Linked DNA regions of Homo sapiens: all the other regions are linked to region 6. The links are contacts of gene promoters, found by promoter capture Hi-C in blood cells and fetal thymus (Javierre and others, 2016). All regions are on one chromosome and are shown on one strand. The core of a region is centred on a gene start or on the middle of the fragment in contact, and the rest is flanking DNA. Distances in the headings are between cores, read along the strand shown. Region 1 has its middle 10 kb from the start of NNMT. Region 2 has its middle 41 kb from the start of NNMT. Region 3 has its middle 22 kb from the start of NNMT. Region 4 overlaps ZBTB16 (zinc finger and BTB domain containing 16). Region 5 has its middle 29 kb from the start of NNMT. Region 6 holds the start of USP28 (ubiquitin specific peptidase 28). Region 7 overlaps ZBTB16 (zinc finger and BTB domain containing 16).

Evidence for each region. The method cuts DNA at HindIII sites, captures the fragments that hold promoters and counts their contacts. A CHiCAGO score of 5 or more calls a contact.
Region 1: a contact is called between a fragment that was not itself captured here and the fragment with the promoter of USP28 in region 6, in 5 of 17 cell types (total B cells, naive B cells, activated CD4 T cells and 2 more). The highest score is 7.7, in total B cells.
Region 2: a fragment that was not itself captured here is called in contact with the fragment with the promoter of USP28 in region 6 in 2 of 17 cell types (total CD4 T cells and naive CD4 T cells); the score reaches 5.3 in total CD4 T cells.
Region 3: a contact is called between a fragment that was not itself captured here and the fragment with the promoter of USP28 in region 6, in 1 of 17 cell types (naive CD4 T cells). The highest score is 5.0, in naive CD4 T cells.
Region 4: a fragment that was not itself captured here is called in contact with the fragment with the promoter of USP28 in region 6 in 7 of 17 cell types (naive B cells, total B cells, naive CD8 T cells and 4 more); the score reaches 8.2 in naive B cells.
Region 5: a contact is called between a fragment that was not itself captured here and the fragment with the promoter of USP28 in region 6, in 16 of 17 cell types (total B cells, naive B cells, total CD8 T cells and 13 more). The highest score is 17.2, in total B cells.
Region 7: a fragment that was not itself captured here is called in contact with the fragment with the promoter of USP28 in region 6 in 8 of 17 cell types (naive B cells, neutrophils, total CD8 T cells and 5 more); the score reaches 8.6 in naive B cells.

Annotation. Positions count from the first base shown.
Region 1 is chr11:114,284,331-114,287,673 of GRCh38, forward strand. It overlaps a transcript of NNMT not described here. Among named protein-coding and RNA genes, the nearest start is that of NNMT, 10 kb to the right of the region's middle. The HindIII fragment of the contact is 853 bases long and covers 827-1,679 here.
Region 2 is chr11:114,335,578-114,339,032 of GRCh38, forward strand. No RefSeq gene overlaps it. Among named protein-coding and RNA genes, the nearest start is that of NNMT, 41 kb to the left of the region's middle. The HindIII fragment of the contact is 1,332 bases long and covers 811-2,142 here.
Region 3 is chr11:114,316,715-114,320,218 of GRCh38, forward strand. No RefSeq gene overlaps it. Among named protein-coding and RNA genes, the nearest start is that of NNMT, 22 kb to the left of the region's middle. The HindIII fragment of the contact is 798 bases long and covers 1,070-1,867 here.
Region 4 is chr11:114,206,465-114,209,522 of GRCh38, forward strand. The region is part of intron 4 of ZBTB16 (zinc finger and BTB domain containing 16); the gene reads left to right. Among named protein-coding and RNA genes, the nearest start is that of NNMT, 88 kb to the right of the region's middle. The HindIII fragment of the contact is 4,104 bases long and covers 1-3,058 here.
Region 5 is chr11:114,265,306-114,268,666 of GRCh38, forward strand. It overlaps a transcript of NNMT not described here. Among named protein-coding and RNA genes, the nearest start is that of NNMT, 29 kb to the right of the region's middle. The HindIII fragment of the contact is 2,784 bases long and covers 368-3,151 here.
Region 6 is chr11:113,874,320-113,877,649 of GRCh38, forward strand. It overlaps USP28 (ubiquitin specific peptidase 28), which reads right to left and starts at 1,253. Exons shown (of 26, transcript NM_001346252.4): 1 at 1,126-1,253. The coding sequence starts at 1,182. RefSeq lists silencers at 952-1,311, 1,332-1,491 and enhancers at 1,228-1,522, 1,512-1,761, 1,812-2,473. The HindIII fragment of the contact is 13,869 bases long and covers 1-3,330 here.
Region 7 is chr11:114,236,459-114,239,970 of GRCh38, forward strand. All of the region lies in intron 4 of ZBTB16 (zinc finger and BTB domain containing 16), which reads left to right. Among named protein-coding and RNA genes, the nearest start is that of NNMT, 58 kb to the right of the region's middle. The HindIII fragment of the contact is 4,626 bases long and covers 1-3,512 here.

The DNA of each region.
Region 1 (3,343 bases), core at 3-2,502, 410 kb after region 6:
GGTAGGTCAGGCCTGGACACCTCGTGGCTGGACTATGGAAACTGGTCCTGGCTGAGGCTCAGGAATTGCTTTCCTTTCCAAGTAGTCCTCAACCACCTTCACCCCAACATGGTTTTTTTTGTTTGTTTGTTTTTGTTTTTTGTTGCTGTTGTTTTTCTTGAGATGGAGTCTTGTCCAGGCTGGAGTGCAGTGGTGCTATCTTGGCTCACTGCAACCTCCGCCTCCTGGGTTCAAGCAATTCTCCTGCCTCAGCCTCCCAAGTAGCTGGGACTACAGGCATGTGCCACCACACCCGACTGATTTTTGTATTTTTAGTAGAGACGGGGTTTCACCGTGTTAGCCAGGATGGTCTCGATCTCCTGACCTTGTGATATGCCCACCTTGGCCTCCCAAAGTGCTGAGATGACAGGCGTGAGCCACTGCACCCGGCCATCTTTTTTTTTTTTTTTTTTTTTTTTGAGCAGAGTATTGCTCTGTCACCCAGGCTGGGGTGCAGTGGTGTAGTCTCTGCTAACTGCAACCTCCACCTTCTGGGTTCAAGTGATTCTCCTGCCTCAGCCTCCCAAGTAGCTGGGATTACAGGTGCATACCACCATGACGGGCTAATTTTTGTATTTTCAGTAGAGACAGTTTCATCATGTTGGCGAGGCTGGTCTTGAACTCCTGATCCGCCCACCTCAACCTCCAAAAGTGCTGGGATTACAGGTGTGAGCGACTGTGCCTGGCCCCAACATGTCTTTTCTCCCATCACGCTTCTTCTTCCTTTAGCCAAGAAGCTTGCCACCTTACACCCTTCCTCTCCCTCCCTCCTTGGCATCCTTCTCAAAGCTTTCTGTAACCTGAACAATGGATTTAGAAGCCAGTGAAAATATTTGAGACGCTGGAGTATTGATAACCAGATAATTAGATAACTAGAGTTTCTGGCTGAATCAGTGTCTTTGTGGCTATGGATTTTCAACCCAAAGCTCTACGAGAGGGCACACTGTGAGAACCAGGCAGAAGGCAGCCCTCTGCGTACATACAGTGACGCCCTTATGGTCTGCAGCCTCATTTTTACCCCAAAGGTAGCCATGACTTAAGAGTGACAAAAGAGAGAAGCTGACAGGTTGTGGACTCCAAGAAAGGGTTCTCTACCTCCCTGCAATTAAGGCTCATATTAATCAGCTCTGGACTCACCATATGCATCCACTAAAATCTAGAGCAGGCCCTGCGGGAGCACATCAAATTTGATGGGTTATAGTTTTGGTGATAATTTTGTTTATTTGTTATTAATTACCAAGCACATGAAATGCTCCCAAATTACTGATGCCTCTTACTCCAGGAGTTGCTTAATTTGGCTCTGCCTTGGAATTCTTTCCTGGCGACTCACGCCTGCCACAAGGTATGGTTTGAGCAGAGAAAGAGGAAGAGGCTCAGTAGTTGCTTCTCTGCAACATATGTGAATACCCCACCCACAATTGCAGCAGGAAGAGGTGAAGGGAGCAGGCTCCTAATTGCTGTGGCGTACCCAGGGGTACATTTCTTTCTTGGAGATAAGCAGAAGGCAAGGAGTGTCAAATGAGAGATCACTGCCTACAGAAGTCTGTGTCATCTCTGAAGCATCCTGGGGCCCTCTGATCTACAGTAGGCCTTGATGTCATCTGAGGCACAGAAGGACTTCTTCCAGCATTGGAAAGAAAAGCTTGGAAGGAAAGCTTCAGCTGCAGTTTCTGTAATGTTCTCCTCCATCCTTGCCCCATTTTTGCAGAGATCGTTGTTTATCCTTTAGTACCATTGAGTACCATTTAGCCCCACTGGGTAAAATTGAGTGAAAAAGAAACACTAGGTCCTGCCTCAGAGAGGAAACTTGGGAAGACCAATATTATCAAGTAGACTTGATCTCTAAATTTGTGCTTGTTTCGAGGGACTCTGCGTCTGGATATGCAGGATGTTTTTTAAATTGTGAGATGCATCTACAGAAAAGTTCATAGAACATTTACATAGAGCATAAAGGTTAATATAAAATGCATGAGCACTGGTTAGCATTGCAGGATTTTTGAAGCACCCTCTTCCCCCTGTGTTCTGTAACCTGAGCACAACTTTGTCCTCCCCAGTCACCCACAGGCAACCACTATCCTGGCATCTAATGAAATTATCTCATTGTTTTTCTTTAGTTTTCCCACCCACTTGTGCATCACTAAATAATAAAATTTACTTTTGTTTGTTTTGGACTTTTGGACTTTATAGATTGAATAAAAAGGAAGTCTTTCTTGGGACTTTCTTCTTTCGCCCTACATCATTTGGAGAATCATCCATGCTGATGCTTGTAGTTCTAATTGGTTCATTTTCATTGCTGTACACTCCAATTTATTCTACCATTGTTGGACTTTTAGGTTGTTTCTAGTTGGGGGCTGTTCCAAACAATGCTGCTAAGAACATTCATGTTTATGTGCCAGATTTTTCTCTAGGTGTGTACCTGGACTGTAATTACTGGGCATAGGGTACGCAGCAACTCAACTCTACCAGTCAATGCCAGACTGTTTTCCATAACGCTGCACCAAGTTACATGCCTGCTAGAAATACACAAGGACATCTATTGGTCAAGGCCTTTGGTGCTGGTCAGATGTGATTTTTGCCAGTTTGATGGCTGCATAATTGTATCTCATTGTGGTTTAATTTGCATTCCACTGATGAGATTAAGGATCTTTTCCTAGGTTTATTGGTCACTTGGATTTCCTTTCTCAGAAAGGGTCTGTTCAAGTTTTTTGTTTTCTTTATTTTCATATTGATTCACAGAAGTTCTTTGTAAATTCTGTTGTCAGAATTCATAAATTCTTGCTTGTCAGTTTCATGTGTTGTAGTATCTTTTCCCTCTCTGTAGAGTGTCTCTTCACTCTCTTAAAGTGTCTTTGGTCGAACAGACATTCTTAATTGTAATATACTAGCATTTACAAATCTTTTATTCATGATTCATGGCTTTTGTGTCTGGTTTAAGAAATCGTTATCTGCACCCAAGGTCATAAAGATATTCTTCTACATTACCTTCTAAATCTTTAGAGTTTTGCCCTTCATATTTAGTTTTTTAATCTGCCTGAATTGTTTTTTGTGCATAATGTGAGGTGGGGTTCTAATTCCTTATTCCTCCCTACAGATACCCAATTATCTTAGCACTATTTATTGAAAGGTCTATCTTTTTCCCCACTGATCTAAGCTATCACCTCAATCATATATCAACTGTTCATAAAAGTACAGGTCTGTTTATGGGCTCTCTACTCTGTTCTATTGGTCTATTTGTCAATCCTACTACCAATACTACTCTGTCTTAATTACTACAGCTTTATAATAAGTATTTATATCTGGTAGA
Region 2 (3,455 bases), core at 227-2,726, 460 kb after region 6:
GACTCATATCAATTGAAAGTAAATGGATGGAGAAAGGTATACTATGCTAAAACTAATCAAAAGAAAGTGGAAGAAACTAGAACAATTTCAGACACAGAACACTTCACAGCAAGTAAAGTTATTAGGGATAAAGAGGAGCATTGCCGAATGATAAAGGGGTCAGTTCTCTAAGAAGACATAGCAATCCTTAATGTGTGTGCACCTAATAACACAGCATCAAAATACATGAAGCAAAAACTGATAGAACTGTGAGGAGAAATAGATGAGTCCACTAGTATAGTGGGAGAGTTCAACATCCCTCTATCAGAAATGGACAGATTCAGCAGGCAGAAAATCATTAAGAACATAATCAAATTCAAAAACATCATCTATAAACTGTAAATAATGGACAGCTATAAACTAGTTCATCCAGCAATAGCAGAATTCACTGTACATTCTTCTCAAGCTCACATGGAATATTCATCAAGATAGACCACATTCTAGACCACTTCATATACCTTAACAAATGTAAAAAAAAAGTAGAAATCGTAGTGTCTGCTCTCAGACCACAATGGAATTAAACTAGAAATTTATAATAGAAGGATAGCTGAAAAATCCCCCAATACTTGGAGATACAAATACAACATGTGTCTAAATAATACAAGGGTCAAAGCAGAAATCTCAGGAGAAATTAAAAAGTACTTTGAACTAAATGAAAATAACACAAGTTATCAAAAACTGTGCAGTGCAATAAAAGTAGTGCTAAGGGGGAAATTGATAGCATGGAGTGCATATATTAGAAAATAGGAAAGATTTAAAAGAAATCACCTAAGCTTTCATCTTCGGAAACTGGAAAAACAAGAGCGAACTAAATCTATACTGAACAGAAGAAGAGAAACAATAAAAATTAGAGCAGAAATCAATGAAATTGAAACAGAAAATTAACAGAGAAAAATCAATAAAACCAAAAGCTGGTTCTTTGAAAAGATCAATAAAATTAATAAGCCCATAGCCAGGCTAACTTAGAAAAAAGAGAGAGAGGAAGAACATAAATTAGTAATATCAGAGATGAAAGAGGGGACATCATTACAAAAGTCATGTACATTAAAAGGATAATAAAGGAATACTGTGAACAACTTTATGCTTACAAATTTGATAACCTAGCTAAAATAGACCAATTTCTTGAAAGACGCAATCTGCCAAAACTCACATAAGAAGTAATACACACTGAATAAGGGTATATCTATTCAACTGAAAATGAATCAATAATTAATAGCCTCCTAAAGCAGAAAGCATCAGGTCAAAATGGGTTCGCTGGTGAATTCTACCAAACGTTTAAGGAAAAAAGCACACCGATTTTCTACAACCTCTTTCAAAGATAGAAGCACAAGGAATACTTCCTAACTCATTCTATGAAGTCAACATCACCTTCATACCAAAACCAGGCAAACACATTGGAAGAAAATAAATCCGCAGTTCAATATATCTTGGCTGGGTGCAGTGGCTCACGCCTGTAATCCCAGCACTTTGGGAGGCCGAAGCGGGAGGATCACCTGAGGTCAGGAGTTCGAGACCAGCCTGGCCAATATGGCAAAACCCTGTCTCTACTAAAAATACAAAAATTAGCCGGGTGTGGTGGTGCATGCCTGTGATCCCAGCTACTACTCAGGAGGCTGAGACAGGAGAATCGCTTGAACCTGGGAGGCAGAGATTGCAGTGAGCCAAGATCACGTCACTGTACTCCAGAGAGACTCTGTCTCCAAAAAAAAAAAAAAAAAATCCACAGTTCAGTATCTCTCATGAACATAGATGCAAAAATTCTCAACAAAATGTTAACAAATTGAATCCATCAAAGTATAAAAAGAATTGTGTGCCACACCAAGGGGGATTTATCCCAGGAATGAAAGGCTGTTTCAACATTTGACAACTAATTAAGGCTATCCATCATATCAACAGGCTAAAGAACAAAATACAGATGATTACATCAATAGATGTAGAAAAAACCTTTGACAAAATCTAACACTTGCTCATGATAAAAGAAAAAGAAAAAGAAAAAAAAAACTCCTCAGTAAATGAGAAATAGAGGGGGAACTTCCTCAACTTGATAAAGAATATCTACAAAAAATATACAGATAACGTCATATTTAATGGTGAGAAATTAGAAGCTTTCTCATTAAGATCAGGAACAAGGCAAACACATACTCTCTCACCACAGCTTTTCAACATTATGCTAGAAATCCTAGCTAATGCAATGAGATAAGTAAAGAAAATGTATACTGACTGAGAAGGAAGAAATAAAACTATCTTGTTCACAAAAGACATGATTGTCTAAAAGAAAATCTGAAAGAATCAGGCCAGGTGTGGTAGCTCACGCCTGTAATCCCAGCACTTTGGGAGGCCGAGGCGGGTGGATCACAAGGTCAGGAGTTCAAGGCCAGCCTTACCAACATGGTGAAACCCCATCTCTACTAAAAATACAAAAATTAGCCAGGTGTGGTGGCGTGTGCCTGTAATCCCAGCTACTCAAGAGGCTGAGGCAGGAGAATTGCTTGAACCCAGGAGGCGGAGGTTGCAGTGAGCCGAGATCACACCACTGCACTCCAGCCTGGACGACAGAGCGAGACTCCATCTCAAAATAAAAAAAGAAAGAAAATCTGAAAAATCAAGAAAAAAAGCTCCTGGAACTAATAAACAATTATAACAAGGTTTCAGGATGCAAGGTTAATATACAAAAGTCAATCATTTTTCTGCATAGCAACAATGAACAAGTGGAATTTGATATTAAAAAGAAATTGTCATTTATATTAACAGTGCCTCAAAATAAAATACTTGGGTATAAATCTAACAAAACCTGTACATGGTCTATATAAGGAAGGCCATAAAACTGATGAAAGAAACCAATGAAAAACTAAATAAATAGAGAAATATTCCATGTTCATAGATAGAAAAACTCAGTATTAGTCAAGATATTAGTTCTTCACAACTTGATCTATAGATTCAATGCAATCAAAATCAAAATCCTAGTAAGATATTTTGTGGCTATCAATAATCTGATTCCAATGTTTATATGAAGAGTCAAAAGACAGTCAATAACCACCACAAGATTGAAAGAAAAGAACAAAATTGGAGGACTGACATCAAGACTTATGATATTACTATAACTACCCTAAAGCCACAGTGATAAAGACGGTGTGGTATTGGTGAAAAAACTGGCAGAGGATCAATAGGATAGAATAGAAAGCCCAGAAATAGACCTACATAAACACAATCAACTAATCTTTGAAAAGGGGGCAAAGGCAATACAATGGAGACAAGATAGGCTTTACAATAAGTGGTGCTGGAACAACTGAACATTCACATGCAGAGAAGTGAATCTCGACACAGACTTTCCACCCATCACAAAAATTAATTCAAAATACCCCACAGACCAAAATATCAAACTGTAAAACTAGAAGATAACATAGGAGAAAATCTAG
Region 3 (3,504 bases), core at 219-2,718, 440 kb after region 6:
ATTAGATAACTCTGATAGTATTAACCCATTCTAGGACAGCCATTAAGCCACATGTTGCTGCATTCATGAACAGTTCCTTAGTAAGAAAATAAATCATTCTACCAAAAAGACATATGCACCCACATGTTCATCACAGCACTACTCACAGTAGCAAGAGATGGAATCCAGTAGGCACCTATCAATGGTGGATCGGATAAAGGAAATGTGGTACATTTATACCATGGAATACTATATGGCCATAAAAAATGAAATCATGTCCTTTGCACCAACATGGATGCAGCTGGAGGTCATTCTCCTCAGTGCAGTAGCCAGAAACAGAAAGCCAAATACCACATGTTCTCATGTATAAGTAGAAGCTAAACATGGGGTCAACATGGACACAAAGATGGGAACAATAGACAGTGGGGACTACAAAAGGGGGGACGAGGGAGAGGGGCAAAGGTTGAAAAACTACCTATTGTACTGTGATCACTACCCGGGTGATGGGTTCAATCACACCCCAAACCTCAGCATCACACGATATATCCATTTAAAAAGCCTGCACATATATCCCCTGAATCTAAAATTAAAATTGAAAGAAAAAAAAATCTTAACACTGAAAAAACTTTCTTAATGAACTGAGTATGGCCTTCAAAACCTGTCTTGCATATGCTTTCTATGCAAGTCAGCACCATAGGCACCTTGAATCCAGAGCCTTCTTCATAGTTGCTTATTCATTCAGAAGATGTTTCTTGCATCCCTGTTATGTGCTAGGCATTGGGCCTGAGATGAGGATCCTACAGTGAAGATGACGCAGTCTCTGGCCTCGTGGGACTTATTTTCCTGCAAGGAAGACCAGAAAGAAATGCACTCTGACACAGCCTGAGCAGAAATGCTAGATTTTTTTTTTGGTACTCAAGTCAGCTAGGCAGGACCTTTTGCCCACCCAAATGAGACAAACCAGGCCCTTCTTACAGCTGTACCTTCTCATGTATAGATCAGCTTCACTCAAAAAAAAATGTTGAGCTAGGATTATGTGTTTAAGGAACATTATCACAAAGAAAAACACCATTGTGAGTAAAGTCACTGAAGCTTTCTGTTTCATATCTTCCAATGAAAGCAGGGATTTAAACTTTCTGAGTCTAGCCCTCTCGTCTCCCTTGCTGGCCAGTTTCACACTGAAAGGAGATGCTTTCCTTGGCCTTTCAAACGCTTTCCTTGGCCCTCTGAGCGCCAGCAGAGGGTGCACGTGGCTCTTGTTGAAGCCCTTCATTCCTGAATTTGACCATTTACACATGAAGGAATTTAAATTGAGTTAAACCTTCCCAAACAAGACGCTTCTCTGCAGTGTCTCCTTTTTCACAGTCTACTTATGAGGCTGCTAGGAAAAGAGAAAGAGGAATTCAGCATATTTTTCTTTAACAAAAAATATGGATAATTATTTTTATGGATACACACATTTAAAAATTTCCCTTTTAGGTCTATACACAAAATGCAAATTTTAATAAACTGTAAAGAGGATCTTGGCCAGAATAGCATGAGAAATGATAACTATTAGATTATGCAGTTAACTCACCATCACCTTCTATTTGCTGTTTATTCAAAGAAGAGAAAGAAGGTTTTTGTGCTTTTTCAAACCCTAGTTTTTTAATATTTAGAAAATGAAGAAGTCTTTCTATGGCTGTGGTTGCCGGCCAAACCTCTATGCTTATCACTTTAATTTGTACTTTAATAGTGTCTGATGAATTCAGGGGAAGGGTTGAGGTTGAATTTCAAACTCTCAACAACTAATTGTGAGTTATTATTGCCTTTGTTTGGACTTCAATATTGAAAGCCAGGAAGTAGTTTCTTTCCTGGTAGGTTATTGTCTCTCTTCCTTTCAGAGAAAAGCTTTTGAATGTTTAAACAGAAGAGGAGTTAAAGAATTGTAAACACCAGTTAGGCTGCTCTTCAGAAAGATCTGTAATAGCGACCAGGTGCAGTGGCTCACCCGTGTAATCCCAGCACTTTGGGAGGCCGTGGTGGGTGGATCATTTGAGGTCAGGTGTTGGAGACCAGCCTGACCAACATGGTGAAACCCTGTCTCTACTAAAAATACAAAAAAATTAGCTGGGCGTGGTGGTGCATGCCTGTTATCCCAGCTACTTGGGAGGCTGAGGCAGGAAAACTGCTTGAACCCAGGAGATGGAGGTTGCAGCGAGCCAAGATCACACCACTGTACTCCAGCCTGGGAGACAGAGCAAGACTCTGTCTCAAAAGGAAAAAAAAAAAAAGCATCAGTAATAACAACTCACTTTGAAGCCTTCCACCTAAGCGACTGGTATTTTTCTTAAGAGCAGGTATGTAAACACTTCATTTGCATGAGGAGGAGAAAGAGGTTTCTAGAAAGGGGAGGGTAAGCAGTTAGTTTATTGCTCCTTTACCTCTCAAGGGTCCATTTCTGGCCCCTTCTCACTGCTGTCTAATATTTGTTAAATGCTATAGAAATCCCAGTCGTTGGTCAGGCACAGTGGCTCAGCACTTTGGGAAGCCATGGCAGGAGGATCACTTGAATCCAGGAGTTCGAGACCAGCCTGGGCAACAGAGCAAGAACCCGTCTCTACAAAAATATTTAAAAAAAAAAAAAAAGAAAGAAACCTCATTTGTTTAATATGACCTTTGCCCTTGCAGAATTTATAATCTTGCTTGTGAGTTAACATTTACAAAATTACCAATCAAATCCTTTTATTTTAGAGGTGAAGATATGGAGACTCTAAGGGGGCAAGGAGCTTTGCCTTTCTGTGCCTTAGTCTACTGTAAATTGAAAAGTTGAATTACATATCTGTGAAGTCCAGTGTTTTATGATTTATGAATTAGAGAACAATGCTTGTTAAAATAGAGTTCTAACTAAAGGACCACTTGGGTTAATCCCATCCTTTAAGATTCAAGTGAAATTGGCTCAAACCCCGTCCTTCATACAGCCCATAATTTCCTCTCGTCTTGCAGGGAACTGTCGGGGGCAGTGATTTGTATTTCTCCTGGTGACCCCTGGAGTGGACCTTCCACTCGGTCTGTGTTCCAGTGTGTGAATCACTCACTCCTAGCATGGGCTGATTCTTCTCTGCAGCACATGACCCCTAACCAGACCCATCCTGATCCCTTCATTTGCTAAAATTCCCCTGGCCCTCAAATATATAAGTAGCAGCCTTTGCTAAAGCCTCAAGACAACAGAAGGGGTTCATGCTTAGGACCCTATCAACTTAAAATACTTGGCATCCTTGCTGTTAATCTCATGGGGAATTTCTCAGTGACTCAACTTCTTCAGTTGACCCTGGCCATGTTGCTCTGGCATCTGTCCTCCCTTCTCTGGTCCCCAGCCCACTCCTCTTGGGCTGTTTGCCTCCCCTCCTGAATTCCTGTACTGATCTCTTATTTCACTTGCTTCTTCAAGTCGAGACCACACCCCTGGGGCTTCACTTCCTTGAAGCCTTCAAGGTGTTTTCTTTGAAAGGAACTTAAGTGCCCGTATTTAAAATTAGAAATTTC
Region 4 (3,058 bases), core at 19-2,518, 330 kb after region 6:
AATCCCCAGAGTAGGAGATTCTGCCCCCAGGCAGCCCTCCTTGGCCGTCTGTGAGTCAGGGTCTGCACCAGGGCTCTGTATGGGCCTGAGGAGCCCCCATAGCAAGCCTGATGCTGATGGCCTGGAGTTCCTCAAACCTCACTTTGCCTGCTAGCTGTGCTGTTCTAAGCATTCTGTACATTTTTACAAAATAGAAAAATTAGGGCTCAGCCCGCTTTCAGAAAGCTAACTATTGCTAGGGAGGAAAACATACATATCTAAAAAGATAAGTAATAAAACAAGGCAATTGGATGTGATATACCTGCACTAAGAATTGAGGAGTGATGTTTTTAGGTTCCCCATCCCTTTGTCTGCCCAAAATCCAGTCTGCTGTGGCTAGACACCTATGGCTTCTGCACACAGCATTTCCCCCATGTTACTTCTCTGTCTGATCTCTCAGGTGCCCTTGGTTTGACAGCTGCAGCTTGTTGGTCTGAAGGCAAGTGACACTGGGAAAGGACCCTAGTGAGAGGTTTATCACATAAGACCCCAGGATGGCGGCATGCTCTGTTTTTGAACGACTGCCTCATTCCTGTAAGACAAAGGTGGCAATGGAGGGTGGATGCAGAGTTGATGGCTGCAGCCCAAGTTTTGGTGCTTGGCCTCATGTGTTACATCCTAGGTAAGGATGTCTCTGCCATCTTAACACCCATACCTGCTCTTGCGTCTCTCTCTCTTATCCTTCAAAGCATCATCATTGTCTTACCCCAGCTACACAGTGAAATCATTTAGAGGAACTTTATGAAAAAAATGTATTAATAGCAAGCAAAGGTTCCCACCTCAACCCGGATGAGTCAGAACCTCCTGCATGGGGCTCAGACATGGATGTATTTTCAAGCTCCCCAGGAGATTCCTATGGATAACCAGGGTTTTGAATTTCCAGATGGGATAAGATTAGACTCTGCTGCGTGGCCCAGAAGGTTCCTCACAATCAGAGTCACAGGCCTCATCTTTTGTCACCCCCTATGATGCGTGTACACTGAGCCACTTAGAATTTCCCAGACTCTCCTGGCTGTTTTTCTCCTCCATGCATCTTCCACTAACCCCCACACTCTCATGTGTCTTGTTTGCCTGATACACACACACAACACACACACACACACACACACACACACACACACACATATTGAGGCAGAGTTTCACTTTGTCACCCAGGCTGTAGTGCAGTGGCAAGATCTCAGCTCACTGCAACCTCCGCCTCCTGGGTTCAAGCGATTCTCCTGCCTCGGCCTCCTGAGTAGCTGGGATTACAGGCATGCGACACCACACCCAGATAATTTTTGTATTTTTAGTAGAGACAGGGTTTCACTATGTTGACCAGGCTGGTCTCGAACTCCTGACCTCAAGTGATCCTCCTGCCTTGGCCTCCCAAAGTGCTGGGATTACAGGCGTGTGCCACCATGCCCAGCTAATTTTTGTATTTTTATTAGAGATGGAGTTTCACTCTGTTGGCCCGGCTTGTCCCGAACTCCTGACCTCAGGTGATCCACCCACTTCGGCCTCCCAAAGTGTTGGGATTACGGGTGTGAACCACCACGCCTGGCCTTGCCTGCCTGGTATTAATAGAGTCTTCTCAGCTCATTTGTCTTCTCTATGACACCCTTTTCACAGTTGACCCTCCTTCTGGTCTCCAGCACCATAGATGTACACCACTTGCCCTTAGCTATCTTGCCACTGCACGAGTTAGGGTGAAGATTGAACCACCTTGGGGACTTGGGCCTTTCTACTGTGTTAGTTCAAATAATCATTCAATAAATGCTTATTGCATGATTAATCAAAAACAGAAAAGGGAGCTTCCTGATTAGAAGCAGGAATGAAGAATCTGTTCTTGTCTGGCTTCAGATTTTTGCTCTTCACTTGCCAGGTGAAGGACCTTGGAAGAGTCACTCATCCTTTGCAAGTCTCAGATTCCTTGTCTGAAAAATTAGGACACCATACCTGCCCTTTATACCTCAAAAAGGGATGTGAGGACCAAAATGGTCTTAGAACAGGGTAGGGTCTTTGCAAGCAGTAAAGCATGATTCAGATGTAAGGTGATGTCATTGTGATGTTTCCTCTTGCTGTGGTTTCCTGTCATGGGCTCTGGCTTCAGGGTGCCCTGCAATGCCAATGCACCCCAGTCTGTGCCCTCTGCACAGCCTCCCATCCCAGCTTTTCTGGGCCCTTTTCTTCCGTTGGCTTCTTTTATCTTGCACCTACCTTGCTTTCTCCCTGCACGTACCACCACCACAAATGCTGTACAAGAGCAAGTTAACCACTATTGTTTGGAATGATAGAGAAAATAATGAGGGAAACAGACTGGTCCATTCAGTGATTAAGTATTCAGTAATTAAGTATTCAGTGTTAGGTGGTGGGCAGAAGTTAGGAAGAAAGGTATCTTAAGGTTTTTGATTCGGCGTCATCCGAATGGGTCAATGAGACAGATTCCACAGGCAAACCATTCCAGATCCATAACCTCTAGAGTAGAAAGTTTCAGAAGGAAGAGATTCCCCAAACTGTGTAATTCCCTTGTAAATCTCATTCATTCAATGGGATTTGAGAACCAACCACTTGTGCAGGTGCCCGCATCCGAAGATAACTTGCCCCCAGGAGACAGCAGATAAGAAGAGGGCAGAGACAAAGGAGGTCTTTTTGCGACTTGCATCATGGATGCAGAAAAGGTGGATAACCCAACTCTGGTGGGGTGAGTGGGCAGGGAAGGTTTGGAAGCAGGAGGAGGAGACACTCAAAGCTGCTTTGGGGTGCACTTATTTTGTGTGCTGGAGAAGGATTTGCTGGCCATTTCTTGTGAAATAAACTTTTTTGTGTATGCATGTGTATGTAGGCTGTTACTAATCCCGTTCCTTTCTTGATCTACTGTTTTTCAGGTTAATGGTGTCTGGGATTTGTGGAGGGAGGAAGGATATAAAAGGGCAAAAACAGGAGACCCCGGTGCCTGGATTCAGAGCCTTCACATTCCGGAGATCCCCAGAGGCCCCTCTCCCCAGACCCTTCAGCTCCAGAAAGCCATTGTGCTCCC
Region 5 (3,361 bases), core at 510-3,009, 390 kb after region 6:
CCCAACAGCTTTCTACATAACTGACTTGCTCCTTTTGGAAACACTTCTGGTTTCCCTTCCCTCACTGGCTGCTGCTTCTCAGTCTTGTTGGCTCACCCCATCATCTTCTTCTGCTGGAGCTCTGGATATTAGACAGTCTCTGAAAAGTTCCTTGATGCTTTTACTTTGTCTAGCTACATTCTCCCCCACCCTGATGTCTCATCTATTTCTGTTGCTTTTAGAGTGTACCTCTGGGAGATTATTCCTTAACTGTTCCCTGGCCACGTTTGAAGTGAGTCCTGGGATTGAGTCTGCCTTGGGACAGTGTGGCTTTCAGGACCAGCCCAATTCCTGCTTGTGCAAATCTGGGAGACTGAGTGTGGTTTTAAGCTTTGAGAGTCAAAGACATTATCAGGCCAGGTTCATGGACTTTTGGCAATTCAATTTCTCCGAAAATAGCCTTTGGCTGTATTTGCTTCCAATCGATTTCTTACGCCAGTAACCCATTAACCATGATTAAAGTTCTTTCCTCAACTTAGTTGTCCAATCTGTTATTATTATTATTATTATTCTGCACCGCCAAGTCTCCTTGTCAACTTCCTGGTGGTTACCTTGGGGTCATCTGCGAGTCAGCTTGGGTGGGAAAAGCAACACCTTTAATCTGATGTTTGTCACAGTACTGAGTCTCTTTGTAAGAGAATTTTTAATAATGAGCCTTTAATGCTTGAAGCCTTTTCCAGTTTCATTCCTGTAATTTAGGGTCCAGAAGCAGGTAGCTTTCCTATATCCAAGAAAACCCAAATTTTTGGATTTTCCTCCTACTTACATTCATTTCTTCTCGGGAAATTGTCAGTTATTACCTGAACACATCTCTTCATAGTAATATCTTGCTACAAACGCTGAGGAGCAATCAACACGTACTAATATTATGTCCCCCACCCCACCTCGCTGTTTCCCTTAGAGCTATAGGCTTAGTATATACTTGGCTTAGTCTACCTTTTAAGTAGTTGCACTCAAGAGTTTTCCTAAATGTTTTACTTATGCCTATCACAGGGCTCTTTCTAACTAGCTATCTTGCTCTTCTTCTGCCAGCAAAGGCTCTAAATAAACCTGCCACTGTCTACCTTTCTGACCGTCTTCTTCCACTCTTTTCCCACCTCTATACCCAGCCTCACTGTGATTCATTTGTTTCCAGAACAGGACAGGCCTTTGCATGTGCTGTTCCCACTGCCAAGAGCTCCTTGCCCACCCCCACCCCCAGTCCCACCCCATATCTTTGCATGGCTGCCTCCTTCACATATAATTTGGGTCTTAGCTCAAATATTGCCTCTCAGTGGGGTCTTACCTGACCATCTGCTATGGTTTGAATGTGTCCCCCAGAAGTTTATGTGTTGGAAACTTAATTCCTCTGCCCTCTTGAATGGATTAATATTATCATGGGAGTAGGTTTCTTACCTTGATAGTGGCTTTGTTAGAAAAACAAGCTCTCTCTGGCTTGCTTGCTCTGTCTTGCCATGCAATTCTTTCACCATGTGATGAGACGGCATAAAGGCCCACACCAGATGGCTGGTGCCATGCCCTTGGACTTCCTAGCCTCCAAAACCATGAGCTGAATAAACTTTTATTCTTTGAAAAATGATATTTAGTTATAACAAGAGAAAATAGACTGAGAAACCATCCCATCTATAGTTTGTTTTCAGCTGGGCACGGTGGCTCACACTTTTAATCCCAGCACTTTGGGAGGCCAAGGTAGGCAAATCATCTGAGGTCAGGAGTTCGAGACCAGCCTGGCCAACATGGTGAAACCCCATCTCTACTAAAAACACAAAAATTAGCTGGGCGTGGTGGTGCACACCTGTAATCCCAGCTACTCAGGAGGCTGAGGCAAGAGAATCACTTGAACCCAGGTGGCAGAGGTTGCAGTTCACCAAGATCACGTCACTGCAGTCCAGCCTGGGTGACAGAGCGAGACTCCATCTCAAATAAATAAATAAACAAATAAATAAAAATCAAGTTTGTTTTTCCTAGCATTTACCACTGTTTGATATGATCTTCTTTATTTGTTTACTTGTCATGGTTCATGTCCTAGTCTCCTGCATGTGGACCCTGTGAGAGCCAGGGCCTTGTCTGCCACCATATCCTTGATGTTATGAACTGTGCTTGCCACACAATTGTTATGACTACAAATGCCAATACCTACATAATACTCATTGTATGCCAGCCACCGTATTAGTTCGTTGTTAAAAATATTTTAATATTTTTAATGAATTACATATATTTCTAATATACATAAAAATAGAATAATATGATCAACCCCACATAATGCCCGTCACCCAGATTCAACATCATCCAGATTCTGCCACACTTGCTTCACCTATTCTTCTGTCTTTTGTTCCTTTTCTGTCTTTCGTTTCTTTTTCCTGTCTTTTGTTTCTGCTGAAATATTTTAAAGAAAATCCCAGACATCGTGTTGTTTCACCACGACATACTCCAATTCATGCATTTTTCAAAATGAATTTTTCTCATTTAACCTCAGTGCCATTTATATCTTTCCAAAATTAGGAATGGTTCCTCCGTATCCTCACTCAGTCTGTATTCAGATTTTCCTGATTGCTTCAAAAATAACTTTTTAAAGTTGATTTATTTGAATTAAGAGCCAAATCATACCCACATACTGCATCGATTTGTTATTTCTCTTAAGTTTCATTTTCCCCATGCTGTTAACTTGTTGTAGAAAGCGGTGATTATTATTATCTATTCAGTTATGAGATGATGAGGGCCTGAAATGGGGCTGGGTAGTAGGAGTAAAAGGAGGAAACGATCTGAAGAGACCTTATGGAGCAGAGTCATCTGGTTAACCCAGCTTTAGGCCAGTGGAGTGGCGACATCGCTGACCTTTCTGAGACACCTGGGAGCTACAAGATCAACAGTGACCTTGTTTCCTCTTACAGGGTCCCTAGTGTGACAACTGAAGGGAACTTCACAGATGAGCTAATTGTACCTTTTGTTTTAGTCCTTTTTCCAGCCTCTCCCAGCTAGGCAGAACATCTGTACAGTCCTCCCACTTGTTCACAGAGTTCCCTCTTTATCTTGCATCCTCTGGAGCTTGTTAGGAGAGGGTCAGCCTCCATACATGGGACTTACCATGGTTCCCAAACCAGCCATGCAACCAAGCTTATGATTGCTTAAAAATATACTACAACAGACCAGGCGCGGTGGCTCACGCCTGTAATCCCAGCACTTTGGGAAGCCGAGGTGGGCGGATCACGAGGTCAGGAGATCAAGACCATCCTGGCTAACAAGGTGAAACCCTGCCTCTACTAAAATACAAAAAATTAGCTGGGCGTGGTGGCACACGCCTGTAGTCCCAGCTACTCGGGAG
Region 6 (3,330 bases), core at 3-2,502:
AAGCACCTGTAATACCAGCTACTCAGGAGGGTGAGGCGGAGGATGCAGTGAGCCGACATCGCGCCACAGCACTCCAGCCTAGGCAACAGAGGGAGACTCTGTCGAAAAAAAAAAAAAAAAAAAAAAAAAAGTGTCTCCATGCTAAATACTACTGGCCTTCCAGACAAAAGAGTAAAAAGGTATAAAAGGATTCTCACCTGAGGGTATCTGTCTGCCAGCTTTGTACGACAAATATAGTTTCTCATCTCCAAACTCGTATTTGAACAACTGGCACAGATTTCCCGTTTTCTCTTGAAAAAGTGCAGTACTTGAGGGGTGAGGAGGTGGTGTTAAGTTATAACATTCCGAAGTAACACTAGAAGACATGCTCAAATTGCCCTCTTCCCAAGTTTCTTCATACAGACATTAGCTTTTCTCTCAAACCAGGGTTCTTTCACTCTCACCAGATTCTTAGATCAGAAGTCCTTATATTGATTTCAATCTTCTTAGACATTGGGAACAGGAGATCATCATCAGTAGACTTTCTATTCATCACGCAGCTCCTCCCCCTCCTTAAAAATCTAGAGCGATGAAGGCAATAATTGGGGAGGCTGCGCTGTTTTGTTTTTAAAGCCGGGTTGGGAGGGAGGGAAGTGGTGGTAACTGGGACCCCTGGTCTTATAGAAGACGGTGATTAATTCCGGACTTTAAGTGAGATAACTTCGGTCTGCTTTAACCTTTTAAAAACGCCGCCATAAAACTGATTTAAAAGTCAAAGCAAAACAAAACCAACCAACGCTGCCGCTTTCGGAAGTTTCTCACCCCGGACGGGGCCCAGGAGGGCTCACCTTACTGATCCCTGCGGCGGAGAACCCCACGTCCAGCCCTTTATATTTGGTTTTCCAAAATCTGGAAATCCCCCTACAACTTCAGCTCGCCCACGGACGCGAAGATGCAGTCCTCAATCTCCGCGGCCCGAGCCCCGCAGAGCCCTTGGCCTTCTCACCCACGCTGGCGGGCGCACCCCCTGTCCCGCCCGGCCGGGGCGCCCTCCGCAGCCCGCAACCCGCAGCCCTGCAGGCCCCGCACGCTCCCCTCAGGGCCTGGAGCCCGCCCCCAGCTCCCGCTCGCCGCCGCGGAGCCCACCGAGCCGTGGCCGTCTGCCGCGCCGGCCGCGTCGTCCTGCTGCAGCTCCGCAGTCATGGCCGAGGCGCCCAGCCGCGGGTCACCGGTCTCCCGCCGCAGCCGCCGCCGGCCCAGCCTCTCAGGACTAGGCCCCGCCCCCGCCCTCCACCCCGCTCCGTCCCGCCCCCGCCCGCAGCGCGCGCCGGAGGCTTGGCCCACATGCCCCGCCCCCGGCATGCGCGCGCACGCAAGGCGCGCGGCCCGGGGCCGAACAGTTCTGCGTGCTCCCGCGCACGCCCGGCTGACCAGACGTCGGTCACGTGATCCCGGCCCCGCCTGTCGCTGTTGGTCAGCTTCACAGCCGGTGGAGGCTGCGGGCCGCGCTGCCAGTGTCCGGGAACTGGGTTTGCGAATCCTGGGAGCCGCGTTCCTGAGTCTTCTCCGCTCTCTGCCCTCAAAACCTCATTTGTAGGACTGACCTCCGGCTCCACCCTCCCCACGGGCGAGTTAAAACTGTTCCCCCGCCGTGGGAAACTGCCGAATGACCGTGGAATAAAGGATTTCCCATCAGGCTTTGTAGCCATTTCCAACTCCAATGACATGAAGAAGTGTTCACCATCTTTAAGGAGAGAAGGAGGATGAATGCAGTCGCTTGTCTAAAGCTAACCAAACGGACCAAAGCCTCCGTTCATGGGTGTCCCGCTTGGTGCCCTTAACCCTGATGCTCTTAACCTGGGCATGATAAGGAAAATTGCAGTTTTTCCATTTTCGATTTTCAGAAGTTCAAACTAAAATTTTGTGTTACTTTGTTACGTTTGAGCCAGATATTTACGATTTCATGTTAAAAGACCAGGTGCTCCTATTGAATTGTTTTTTGTTTGGTTGGTTTCGGTTTGTTTTTTTTTTTTTCTTTTTTTTTGAGACGGAGTCTCACTCTGTCCCCTCAAGCTGGAGTGCAGCCGCACGGTCTCGGCTCACTGCAACTTCCGCCTCCTGGGTTCAAGCGATTCTCCTGAGTAGCTGGGATTACAGGCACGCTGTACCACACCCAGGGTTTCACCATGTTGCCCAGGCTGGCCTCGAATTCCTGACCTCAGGTGATCCGCCCGTCTCGGCCTTCCATAATGCTGGGATTATAGGCGTGAGCCACCGCGCCAGGCCTGAATTGTATTTTCAACAACTGTGTGGGAATTGTGATTACTGAACCATGTTTCACATTTAAGATACAAATGTGTTATGATGGCAAACCCACTTGACAGGCTGCTGGGTGTCCCAAATCTGCGTAGAGGCTGAGTGTGGAAGCGCGTCTTTTAAGAGTAGCACCTACACCCTTGCCCTGGTCTGGTCTGACTCTCAAGCTACACTTTTAAGTGTGAATTTAACATGGACGGTGGCCTTTCCTATACTCCTGGCATTGTTGTCGCTGGGATTGTTATGTTTCACCTGCAGGCCTCCCTAGTCTGCATGCGGGCGCAGTTTTTGACAAAAGGAAACAGGTACAGGTCAGGTGCAGCTCCCAGGAGAGGCCAGATTACTCTCTGAGGCCTGAACTAGGACTCCTGCAACTTCCACCACCTGGAGATACAGGGATCCGCTTCCCCTGGCAGATTAACTGGCAGATTGGCATGGCTGCGGTGATACTAACTTGGAATCTTCCACATTCAACAGGCTGACTGTGTTTGTGTCTGCGAGTAGTAGGACATTTTATGTATGTGGCTCTGCCATTTTTCCTTTCCTCATGAGTGACTGTGTTTATGGCCTCAACCTGGGTGTCACTGTAGAACAGGTTGATTTCAGGTTGATGCTGGTTTTCTTTTTTTTTTTTTTTTTTTTTGAGACAGGGTCTCACTCTGTCACCCAGACTGAAATACAGTAGTGAGATCATGGCTCACTGCAGCCTTGAATTCCTGGGCTCAAGCAGTCCAACTGCCTCAGCCTCTGAAGCAGCAGGGACTTCATGCATGTGCCATGCCCAACTAATTTTTGTGTCTTTTTTATGGAGATGGGATCTCACTGTGTTGCCCAGGATGGTCTCAAACTTCTGGTCTCAAGCAATCCTCCTGCCTTGGCCTCCCAAAATTTGGGGATTACAGACATGAGTCACCACGCCCAGCCCACATTGATTTCTGAGTCTAGCTTATTTACAGCATTGCCTATTTCTACACTGCTAGAATGCTTTATTTACCATGTCTCTGGAGCAACCCTTATTTGTCTTTACACATTCAT
Region 7 (3,512 bases), core at 421-2,920, 360 kb after region 6:
CTTCCGAGCAACAGAGCTCAGACATGGAGTGACAACGAAGGAGTCCTGTCCAGCCCACCAGACAGACACGGGGGGCCTCAGTGAGATCCGCTGCCTGTGGGTCACTTGTCATTACTGATTTCCAAGGAGAGTCTTGTTGGATGCTCTTAGTAGTGGTTTCATTTGTGGACTGTAGTCTGAACTTTCCTCATCCCTAGCCCTCTGTCTGTACCATGACTCTCCTCATACCTCCTCCTCTACCCTTTGTGATTGTCTTACAACCCCTTATTTATTTTCTAATTCAACATGCAGTTATTAAGTGCCTACTCCATATCAGGCTGTGTACTGTGTGTTGGGGAATATAAAGATGAATACAATAGTTCCTACTTTGGAGGCTTATAATCTATTAGGCAGAGCTGAAAGTCCAAAATAAATGCAATACAGGGCTTTACGTGATACAACAGAGCTCAGAGGAAGATGGTGTTGTTGGCACTGAATCCTAAGTGGTGTAACTCCTCAAAGATGCCTTCTCTAGGGTCAGCTTCCCAGAAAGTAGCAGCCCAAAGACAACAAAACAGCTTAGGCATGTGTATTGTGCAGGGCTGCCATGACTCATGATCCAGGTCGTTCACTGCACAAGGGTGCCCAGCTGAGGAGGGAAGATCCCAAAACCCTGCCCTCTCTGTACTCACCATAAATATGCAGCCAGGTCTGTGGGGCTGGCCAGAGGAGGAGACGTGATTTTCTAATTCAGATGAAGGTGTTGTTTGGCCATCATTGGCTCTGTGACCACATTATAAAGTTTTTTCGTGTGGATATCTCATTCGATGTTCTTGATAACCACAGTGGCAGATAAGGAGCAAATGGATCTGGTGAAAAGAATGACTTGCTCGGGGCCACAAGGCAAGTATGTGGGAGAGCTGGGACCCCTGTGCTGCTTTTCCTTCCCCTGTGTCATGTGGACCATCTGACTTCTGAGGGTCTCGTTTATCCAGTCAGAGCACCTCCCCTCTCCCCAGTGGTACCAGGCCTGACGTCTCTCCATAGCAGAGGACGGAACCCAGGCGTTGAAGGGAGCAGAGCGTTCCAGTGCTGCCGGGCCCCCCTGCCCCGCCGCACATCTCACTGCAGCTAATGAATTGCTAATACAATTTTCTAGATAATTTTATTTCCATAGTCCCACATTTTAATGTGTTTCCAAAAGCTAGCATTTATTTGCTTAATCTCCCAGTGTAATAGAATCTGCCCTGACTCATCATACATGCGAACAATCAGCTAGGCTGAAACGCCAGCAAATTGTTTAATAACTCACATCTAGTCTCTAGATTTTTAACTCGCATGCACCAATAGCTTTTCTTGTGTCTCATCCACATCTCCCCCACTTTTCCATTTTTTTAAAAATACTTTTCTATCATCATAGCTGTTAGTTTCTAAGCAGAAAAATGGGGAAAGTGGATGCTGAGTCTCAGAGGCTCCCCTTTCTTCCCCTGGGAGCCTTGGTTGGTGGATACGTGACCAAGGAGCACCCCTGCACCTTGTGGAATGTCCCAGGAAGGGGAGAGAGACCACTGTAGGGACATCATAGTGTTTCCTTTCCAGCTGGTGACCATATGACTTCCAGCCTGTTGGCCAGTTGTGGAACTGGCCATCTGGGATTTTTTGCGTGCCACTCCTCCCTTGCTGTCCCACCTTTCTAGGATTTTCTCTCTCCCTTTGCCCTGGCAGCCTCTGCCCTGGTCTGGTCCCTACCCTCCTCCAGTGGCCCATCAGCCCTCTCGCTGCTTCTAACCGCTTGCTGCTGCTGTTGGTCCCCATGTGTGCCCAGAGTCACTGGCTTCAAACACAGGTCAGATCGTGCTAGCACCACTCGTCTTAGTCAAGTCAGGCTGCTATAACAAACTGCCACGGACTGGGTGGCTTATACACAGCAGACATGCATTTCTCACAGCTCTGGAGGCTGGGAAGTCTGTGATTGGGGTGCCAGCATGTTCAGGTTCTGGTGAGGGTCCTCCTCCTGGTTGCAGACTGCTGATTTCTCGGTGTCCTCACGTGGTGGAAGGGGCTAGCTAGCTCTCTGGGCCCTCTTTTACAAGGACACTCATTCCATTTTAATTACCTAATTATCTCTCCCAGGCCCCACTTCCTAATACCATCACCTTAGGGGTTAGGATTTCAAAAAAGGAATCAGAGGGGGACCCAGACATTAGGATCATAGCAACCCTCGGTCCTTTCATGGCACTGCATTGCCTGTAGAATAAAGTCCAACCTGTCCTGCCTGGCATATGCAGCCCTCTGATCTGACTCCCATCACCCTCCCAGCTTGTCTCCATCCCCAGGGCCTGACCTTGGCCCCATCTGCTCTGACATTTGCCAGTGGTGTCTCTCTCCTTAGCCTGGCACATGTGTCCCAACTTCTTGTCCTTTGCTTCTCAGATACTCAACTTTTAAAAGCCTAACTCAAAATCTCAGGAGCTCTTGGAGTCGCCCTGCCTTACCCTCTGGGTGGTTGTTAACTCAGCATCTCCCACTAGTCTGGGACCCAGTTTCTCTGCTCAGCCTTAGCCTGCCCCTGGTCACCTAGCACAGTGCCTGTACTTGGTAGTGGCTCAGTGAGTTGGCTGAATGGACATGAAGTGGGTTCAGGCCACCCTGAGAAGTAGGGACAGCATAGTGGGGCAGTATCGAGGGGCCTTGGAAAGGCCAAGGGGGCAGAGTGCTGCAGTCTGCCTTGCTGGGTGTATTGACACTCAGAGCACCTGTGGGTCTGGCTGTATAGGCTGAGATGTCCTATTGGGAATGCCATTCATGTTCCCTCTGCCCAGGTTCCTTCCATGCCGGGGATCTCAGAGGATGCATAAGGAGAAGCCTTGGCTCTTAAAGGGCATGGCTGGCCTCCAAAGCCTACTCAACCCTACTGATTTAAGGTAGCTGTTTGAACACCTGGCTTAATTTGGGCTCTCTGTGGGGTGGGGGTTAAGGGCAGAGAGGGAGTAGATGCTGGGGGCTCTCAAGTTGAAGGAGTGGGGGCCACCGGGCACAGAACGCATTGCAGATGCACTGTCCTCCTGTGTACGTCGGCCAAGCAGGGAGGGACATTGAAGACTCACTGTCAACTCTTGGCATTGCTTCTGTCCAGAAAGATACATCTCTCATTATGTCTCCCTCCAGCAAGTGAAGCTGAGTAGACTACTCAGCATTTCTGAGAGACCTTGGTGGCTCCCAGTGGGATTGGAAGGCCTCAGAGAGCTATGCCTTGTGACCCAGCCCCAGCTACTGCCCACTCCTGGCCAGGGGTTCTCTAGCCATTGCTGGAGCTGTACTAGAGGCAGGAGTCCTCTGTACCATCCTTACTGGGCCTCTTCCAGGGTAAGCCCAGACAGGCGGGCAGTCAGCTCCAGAGGTAGCATTGAGTCCAGCCCCGTGGTTTCTGAAAGACAAACCGAGATATTTTCAGATCCCAACTCTGCCTCTTTCTGTGTGATCTTAGGCAAGTTATTTAATCTCTCTTTTACACTGGTAAAAAGGGGGATAAG